2 separate regions of the Homo sapiens genome follow, and region 1 is linked to region 2. Evidence: promoter capture Hi-C in 16 types of primary human blood cells and fetal thymus (Javierre and others, 2016). All regions are on one chromosome and are shown on one strand. Each heading gives the region's core, a stretch centred on a gene start or on the middle of the fragment in contact. The rest is flanking DNA. Distances are from core to core; before and after follow the strand shown.

Region 1 (4,190 bases), core at 802-3,301, 2.8 Mb after region 2:
CCAACTCCTTGCAGGGCCAGCTTCATGGGCATGTGGCCCACGCAGTCTCATAAGGTCCCGTACTTGGTTTAATGTTCTGCTGTGGCCATCTTGAAGCTCTCAATCATTTTCAAACAAAGGACACTGCAAATTACATAACTGGTCCTGAGGCGTTGGTTCCAATATTTCCTTAAACCCAGTGGGATCCTCACCCTTCCTAAGACTGAATCATTCAGCTCTTCTTTAGATTATGTGAGATTCTTCCAACAAATTATCTTTCATGTTAAGCTTCTTAGAGGTAGATTCTTTTACTTGCAGCCAAGAAACTGGACTACACTGTGGTCAAAGACACAAGATGAGAGAAATAACACAATTCTAGAGGCTCCCAGCCCCAGTGCATGCCCAAAAGATAGAGTTCTGTCCTTGCCCCTGAGGTTTCTGATTTTTTCAGAACTGCACCTGCAGGGCCTGGATATTTCCCCCAGAGAGTCCAGAAAGGTCTTTGTGCTTTAGAAAGAACACAGGCTATAGTGGTTGGTATCATTTAGAGACCAACACTGATTTTAGGCATCTTGTAATATAATTTAAGGTGGTATCCTTAATATTGCAAATTCAATAGGCTTATATGCAAACTGTACCATGCTCATTTCTCTGAATAACTGAAAAGCAAGCAAATAAATGAAACAAAAAAACATTCCAATATAACAGTCTAATTGGGAAAGGGGGTTTCATTTGTGTAATGCCCATAATCAGCTTTAAAACATATCCATGGATTATCATTTGTTTATAGAGGAAAGTAAAATGGCCAGACTTAATGATAAGGTGATCAGTGGCTTAGTTTTGCTAGTTCCAGCATGGTTATCTTTAGACTGATATTTTGGCTGAACTATAGAACACAGAACTTGCCAACATTTTTTAAAGCGAAGGAGTGTTTGCATCTTTCAGTTTGATGTAGTGGCCTGAGGTTCCCCCAAGTCCCTTTGAACTGTTTGCTCTTGAACCACATTTGTTTCTTATGCATTTGGAGTAATTGATGCGCTCCGAAAGGAAGAAGGAATAAGAGGGAGCATGTGAGATTAGTCTTCAACAGAAAGAACAAATCTAGTTGAAACAAAAGGAGAAAAGTGAGATCATCCAGAGGCGACTGTCACTCTCAACACACACAAAAGGCTTCTTTGGGCACATTGCAGACCTTCCCCCAAGGTATTCTGCAGAATAGCCGCCAGGCACCAACAACAAAGATGTGACTCGGGCATGAGATGATGGATAAGAGGGAACAGAGTAACAGAGGTTGTGTTCTTGAGACCTGTGTCATCTTGAAAAACGCCCTGAATTCAGCATTGTTTATATTCCTCGGGAATATGTTAGTGCCTGTAGGTGATCCATGTAAGAAATTCTGCGCGGTATCTGCCTGGTCTCTTACAAACACTCTGAATCCTACGTCCTGAAAAAGGTACAGAAGGATGTCAATCCCGGCTTCCCCTCCCAGGGAATCGTGGAAAACATACTATATCAATGCCTTGATGTGTCACCTTGTTTCATCCTTACACTAGGTCTGTAAAGCAAGTATACAGTGTCCTTGGTTGCAGTTCAGTCATTCGGCGTATATTTATTAAGCACATATTGCCTGTGAAGCACTGTGCTTCTGGGATACTGCAGCGAATAACACAGGTGCGATCCCTTCTCCTTTGGGGTTTACTTTCTCAGAGAAAAAAAAAAAAGAAATAAGTAGATAAAATAATTGCCAGGGAAATTGGGGTTATCATGGAAAGGTACAAGGAGTTTGAGAGAAGGAAAAAGAGAAGGGGCAGCCCAGCTTTCCACCTCTGCCTCTCCCGGGCACCCCCAGGCTCCATTCTCTCCTCCCTATACTCCTGCCCAGACAGCACCCACCTCCCCTTCCGCCCCCTTTTCCCTCCTTCTTTCCCTCCTCTCTCCGCTCCCTCTCTGACCTGCCGCCCCTCCCTCCGCTCCCCTGCCCTTTTGCTCGACCAGGGCCCCCGGGAGCCCTCTACCCCCACCCCATGGCCCAACCGTCCGGGCACGAGCCCCGCCCGAGCTCACCGCCCCTGCTCCCCTCTCCGACCCTTTGAGCCGTGGCCGTTGCCAGATGTCCACAATGGGAAACGAGGCCAGTTACCCGGCGGAGATGTGCTCCCACTTTGACAATGATGAAATTAAAAGGCTGGGCAGGAGGTTTAAGAAGTTGGACTTGGACAAATCAGGGTCTCTGAGCGTGGAGGAGTTCATGTCCCTGCCGGAGCTGCGCCACAACCCGTTGGTGCGGCGAGTGATCGACGTCTTCGACACCGACGGTGATGGAGAAGTGGACTTCAAGGAATTCATCCTGGGGACCTCCCAGTTCAGCGTCAAGGGCGACGAGGAGCAGAAGTTGAGGTTTGCGTTCAGCATTTACGACATGGATAAAGATGGCTACATTTCCAACGGGGAGCTCTTCCAGGTGCTGAAGATGATGGTGGGCAACAACCTGACGGACTGGCAGCTCCAGCAGCTGGTCGACAAAACCATCATCATCCTGGACAAGGATGGCGATGGGAAGATATCCTTTGAGGAATTCAGTGCTGTGGTCAGAGACCTGGAGATCCACAAGAAGCTGGTCCTCATCGTATGAGCCTTTTTCTTACAAGCACCACCCAACAACTTCTGCTTTCTTCCCTATCTCTTTCAAGATTTGCTCAAGACGTCCAACTGTCTCTCTGACTTATCTGGAAGTATTTCTTTTTGTGAAGCCATATGTCCTAACAGGAGCTTCATCACCAACTCAGTGCTATTAATTCTCCTTCTCTGAATGACTCAGGGTACCCTATAGGGGGAAGAGCAAGTCAAATGAGCATAGTGGGGAAAGAAAAGGAAATGGCTTTTATAAACATCTTTTACTTTGTTTTGATTCAAAGACCAAACTAGAACTTTAAAAGTTCAAAAATAAGAAAGTATACATTTTTGCTGTTATTTCTCATCATTTTGTATATGGGAGGAAATTTATAATTTGCATGGGTGTTAGGTGAACTGTTTTCATTTGCTTGTGTTCAGATATCTTGCCAGATTGTTAACTTCCTATTGTAGCAACAGGGACAAATATATTTGTCTTTGCTGGGCATCTCGTAATCACTTTTCTTAGGGGACAGAATCCCATCTTTTCCTTCGGCAGATTGCAGCCCCATTCCCCACAATGCATCCAGAAATCGCTGTGCATGTTTGAGGGGTAGGAGTTCATTTGGCCTCCTCCTGACTTGTTGCTCCAGCTCCTGAACAGAAACTAGCTTCAGGGCTCTTATAGGAAATGCTAAGCCTGGACTAAGTGCCCAGCTCAGCCATCATCCTCATTAGCAGTGGGTTTCCAGGGTTGGCAGCCCACACCAGCATTAATTTCAATGAAGGGGACCTCCAGCTAAATAGGGCAAGCAAAGTGTTCTCCCAGAAAGTGCTCTCACCTCCGACACTGGTCCCTACCCCCAGGTGGAGACAATGAGACATTTAGTTAGTTGTCCTACGGAGGAGAGGCAGTAGAGTCAGGCTGCAGTGGAATCTCCCTAGGATGCCAAAGTGGCATTATGTCTGTTGCTCACAGATGCAGAGACTGACAATTGTGTCTCCACAGCAGAGGTGGATGCTAGCTACACCAGCTATGCTGATTTTGAAAATCAGATCTGAGGCCTAGAAGAGAAACTGAGAGCTCTCTCATTCCAGGAAGCCTTTTCCCTAGTGGAACATTCAGTGCAGAAGTCCTCACACACTAACAGATCTCCACCATTGGGTGAGCCGGAGCCTGTGGTTCCAGGGGAGATCCAGAATGCATGTGTCTCTTCCCACGCATTTATGTCATGTTGGTAGCTTTAGATCAGCCATGGTGAGAAAAGAACAAAAGCTTTTAGTTGTTTTTGTTTTGTTTTGGAGAATTTGTTTACCAGTAAATACATCACTGCCTGTACCCCAAATGTTACCAGCTCCCTGAGGTGTCCCACATACTATTGTGAGTTCTCAGAGCATGAACTGTCCTCAGAAGAGCAGGGCTAGGACTTGTCCCAGCATCTGTGCCTCCATACCAATCCTCTTTCTCACAGAGAACCACTTCCCATATAAGATGCTTAAGGCTCTCAAAACAGCAGAACAATGAAACATACTCTCCCTACACTTGCTTAGCCAAGAGATACCACTCAGGTAACTTTTTTCAGGACATGGAAGATCTGTTT
Region 2 (4,084 bases), core at 1,363-3,862:
TCTCCAGGTTCTCAACATTTTACTCACTGACTTATAAAAAGAATACATTATATAATTGGGCCCTGGAGAGGGAGGAAGTAGTCTGTACTGATTTTTGGCTACAAGTTCTACTAAAACATCAGGGAAACATTATCATATATGCTATTTAATTAATGTAATTACATAGAATAATATTTCTCAAACTTTTGACAACTTTAGGTCACTAATTTCAAGTAAGTTTAACAAAAGATTCATTTGTCCAGTTTATTACTTTATTTCCAGCTTTACCAAGGTTTAATTGATAAACAAAAATTATATATATTTATGGCATAAAATGAAATGTTTCAATATCTGTATATATTGTACAATAATTAAATCAAGCTAATTAACATATCCTTCACCCCTCATATTTATTTTTTATGGTGATAACATTTAAGATCTACTCTTTTAGCAATTTGCAAGTACATATTGCATTATTACTAACTATAGTCACAATGCTGTCCATTGGTGACATAAGTCCAATACTTATTTTGGAATAAGCGTCCAAAACTTATTCCTCCTATCTAACTGAAACTTTGTACTCTTCGACCAACATCTTCCCATCTCCCCTTCGCTGCCCCTGGTAGCTACCATTTTGCTCTCTGCTTCTATGTGTTCAACTGTTTTAGATTTCACATATAAGTAAGATCATGCGGTATTTGTCTTTCTGTGCCTGGCTTATTCCACTTAACATAATGCCCACCAAGTTCATCCATGTTGTCCTAATTGACAGGATTTTCTTCTTTTCAAGGCTGGATAGCATTCGTGTGTGTGTGTGTGTGGAAGTGGATGTGTGTGTGCACACGCAAACCTCAGATTTTCTTTATCCATTCATCCACTGATGGACACTTAGGTTGATTCCAGACCTCAAAAACACAGGCAGCAAAAGCAAAACTAGACAAATGGTATTGCATCAAATTTAAAAGCTTCTGCACAGCCAAAGAAATGAATAACAGTGAAGAGGCAGCATGCAGAATGGGAGAAAGTACTTGCAAACCATACATCTGATAATGGGTTCATATCCAAAATACATAAGGAACTCAAACAATTCAATAGTAAGAAAACAAAGAACCCGGTTTAAAAATGGGCAAAGAACCTGAGTAGACATTTCTTTAAAGAATACATAGAGGCTGGGTGCGGTGGCTCACACCTCTAATCTCAGCACTTTGGGAGGCCGAGGCAGGTGGATCATGAGGTCAGGAGTTCAAGACCAGGCTGGCCAAGATGGTGAAACCACGTCTCTACTAAAAATACAAAAATTAGCCAGGTGTGGGGGCGGGCACTTGTAATCCCAGCTACTCAGAAGGCTGAGGCAGAGAATTGCTTGAACCCTGGAGGCAGAGGTTTCAGTGAGGTGAGATCACGCCACTGCACTCCAGCCTGGGCAACAGAGTGATAGTTCATTTCCAAAAAAAAAAAAAAACAAAAAAAAACAAAAAAGCATACAAATGGCGAAAAAGTATATGAAAAAATGCTCAGCATCAGTAATCATCAGGGACATGCAAATTATAAACACAATGTGATATTACCTCACACGTGTTAGAATGGCTGTTATCAAAAAGTCAGATGATAGTAAGTGTTGGTGAGGATGTGGAGAAAAGGGAACCCTTGTACACTTTTAGTAGGCTTGTAAATTGGTACAGTCATTTTTGAAAATAGTATGGAGATTCCTCAAAAAATTAAAAATGGAACTACCATATGATCCAGCAATCCCAGTTCTGGATATATATCCAAAGGAAATGAAAACAGTATATTATATATGCACTCCCATATTCATTGATGTATTCTTTTTAATGCATTTTTCTGTAGGGAGACCCCCTGAAACTATTGCTACGGAATAAAAGATGAAATGCTCCTGATTATTGTAAATACAAAATTGCATGCAGAATTGTGTAACGACAACCCAGGTTGGACTGCCAGAATGAGCCAACAGCACGTGATGTGCTTGCCCCTGCAGAGAGCCTATGAATGGACGTGCAGTCAGGGAGGTTTCATATCACCAAGATTCCTATCCCAGAAAAGCAGATGTTCATAGCTCTGGGAATGGAATGAGACCCTTGTGGAGAGCCTATAAACGGACGCATGGGGGCGCCTGTCGATATGGATAAGATAGGGCTATAGACGCCCTCATCTTGCCATGGCTCTTCTAGGCCTCTTTAGGGTTAAGGCATACTCCCTTCTGAGAATTTCTGGTCTAACCCGTTGTCTAGCTTCACGTCCTGTTTCTATGGATTGTTTGTAACCAGCTTTTGCTGCAACTGTTACTGCTGATTAATATCTTGCTAATCATAGGTTATGGAAAGACTAAGTTTCTGTTTTAAGGCTCTGTTAGAAATTACTGATGCACACACTATATTGTAAATTCTTATCCCTGTATACTGTACTTCTGCATACAGATGTTATGTTAAAGAATTACTTCATCCCCATGTGACCATCTCACCTCATAATCAAATGACCGTAAATCCCTCACTAACCTACCCCTGACCTCACTAAACTTAATAATAAATGCTGGTATATCCAGTGCATTGTTGGCACCATGGGACTAGAAGGCAGCGACCCCCCTGGACCCAGCTTTCACTATCTTGTGTGTGTCTATTATTTCTCAACCTGCCGATCCGCCTAGGAACAAAGAGAGAGCCCCATTGCATTGTGGGCTGCTGGCCAGATCCCACAATATTTTTGCATTAAATTAGAACATTCTAATTTACAACTATAGTTATCAGGAAGGACGATAGTGTTCAGTGTCTCTGTTAGATGGTTCTAGAGATTCAGATTCAAATGGACCCAAAATGTATAGATAGATTTTTTTTTTCAGAGACTACTTGACACTCTGTAATTTCATCTCAAAAGCTGAAAAGTAAAATGTCTGAACATGAAACATAATAGTGAATGGGTCTCTATCAACTCCTTGTTTTAAACATCTCTGATAACTTCCCTTCAGATTTTGAGTAAACATGCCTCATAATATATACAAACAACTTTATTCTCCAGCAGGTTAAAAAAAAATTAGGTATTGTGAAAGAGTGAAACTGTCAGGCATCAATCCATCTGCACATGGTTTAGTTTTCTCATGAAAACTTAATACAGTATCCTTAACCCGAAAAACATATATTTTAGCACCAGTATCATAGGTTCAGACTGCGCTAGGTCCTGCTCATATTGAGAGGCACAGTATAGCTAAGTAACTTAAAATCCTGGAAATGATCTGGCATTATTAGAAATGTTTCATCTAATAGCTCATTTCACTTACTTAGGTGCCTCTATAATCAGTGTTCTTAGATACAATAAAGCATTTATTCACATAACACCTTGGGACGTATGCACTGTTCAATCATATTAACAATTATCTTCTTCTCTTTTGACTGTGCATTGAGATTAGGAGTAGGCTGTAGGCTGGACAGCTTGGGTTTGAACCCCTGCTCCTTCACTTACTTGCTGTGAGGCTGTGGACAACTTCCTTAACCTCTCAGTTTCTGCATTGATAAGCCAAAGAGCCTACCAGATAGTAAAAACTTCATAGGTCATTATAGGAATTCAGTTAGTTCATATAAAGGTGCTTGATACATAATAAATGTTCAGTGCATGTTATCCATTGTTGTATACGAATAACACAAAGGCTAAGAAGTTACTCAAATATCAGTGATTTTATTTAATTGTGAAGTGAAGCATGTGTAGTACATGTAGTTTTAATTTCTTCTAAATAATTATGCTTTATTAATGAGAACTCTTTCTGATGCAAATTGAAAGAAAACAATCTTATAACTTGCTTAATTAGAAAAAAAAGAATGCATTGTCTTAAACAAACTGCAGTCCTAGAGGAGACTTTGCATTAAGCCTGTCTGAATTAGAAATCAGAAAATGTTATCAATAATAAATCTCTCTCTCTCTTTCTGTCTCTCTCCCTCTCCCTCTTTTCAGTCTCTTGGTTCTGCTTTTTCCTGATTTAGCTTTATTCTCAGGAAAAATAGCCTTGAGCCACTCTGTGCATACAGTTCTTAACTATCACAACTCAGAAAGAAAAAGAGACTTTCCATTTCAGAACTTCTATATAAATTCTCATGATGAA

The links. The method cuts DNA at HindIII sites, captures the fragments that hold promoters and counts their contacts. A CHiCAGO score of 5 or more calls a contact.
Region 1: a contact is called between the fragment with the promoter of PPP3R2 here and a fragment that was not itself captured in region 2, in 2 of 17 cell types (endothelial precursors and M2 macrophages). The highest score is 10.1, in endothelial precursors.

The regions. Positions count from the first base shown.
Region 1 is chr9:101,592,830-101,597,019 of GRCh38, reverse strand. PPP3R2 (protein phosphatase 3 regulatory subunit B, beta) reads left to right here and starts at 2,051. Exons shown (of 1, transcript NM_147180.4): 1 at 2,051-4,190. The coding sequence starts at 2,099. The coding sequence ends at 2,611. All of the region lies in intron 6 of GRIN3A (glutamate ionotropic receptor NMDA type subunit 3A), which reads left to right. It overlaps LOC105376186 (a long non-coding RNA gene), which reads right to left and starts at 2,046. Exons shown (of 3, transcript XR_001746863.2): 1 at 1,932-2,046; 2 at 1,512-1,677; 3 at 1,205-1,423. The HindIII fragment of the contact is 3,598 bases long and covers 270-3,867 here.
Region 2 is chr9:104,393,131-104,397,214 of GRCh38, reverse strand. No RefSeq gene overlaps it. Among named protein-coding and RNA genes, the nearest start is that of OR13F1, 110 kb to the left of the region's middle. The HindIII fragment of the contact is 3,332 bases long and covers 947-4,084 here.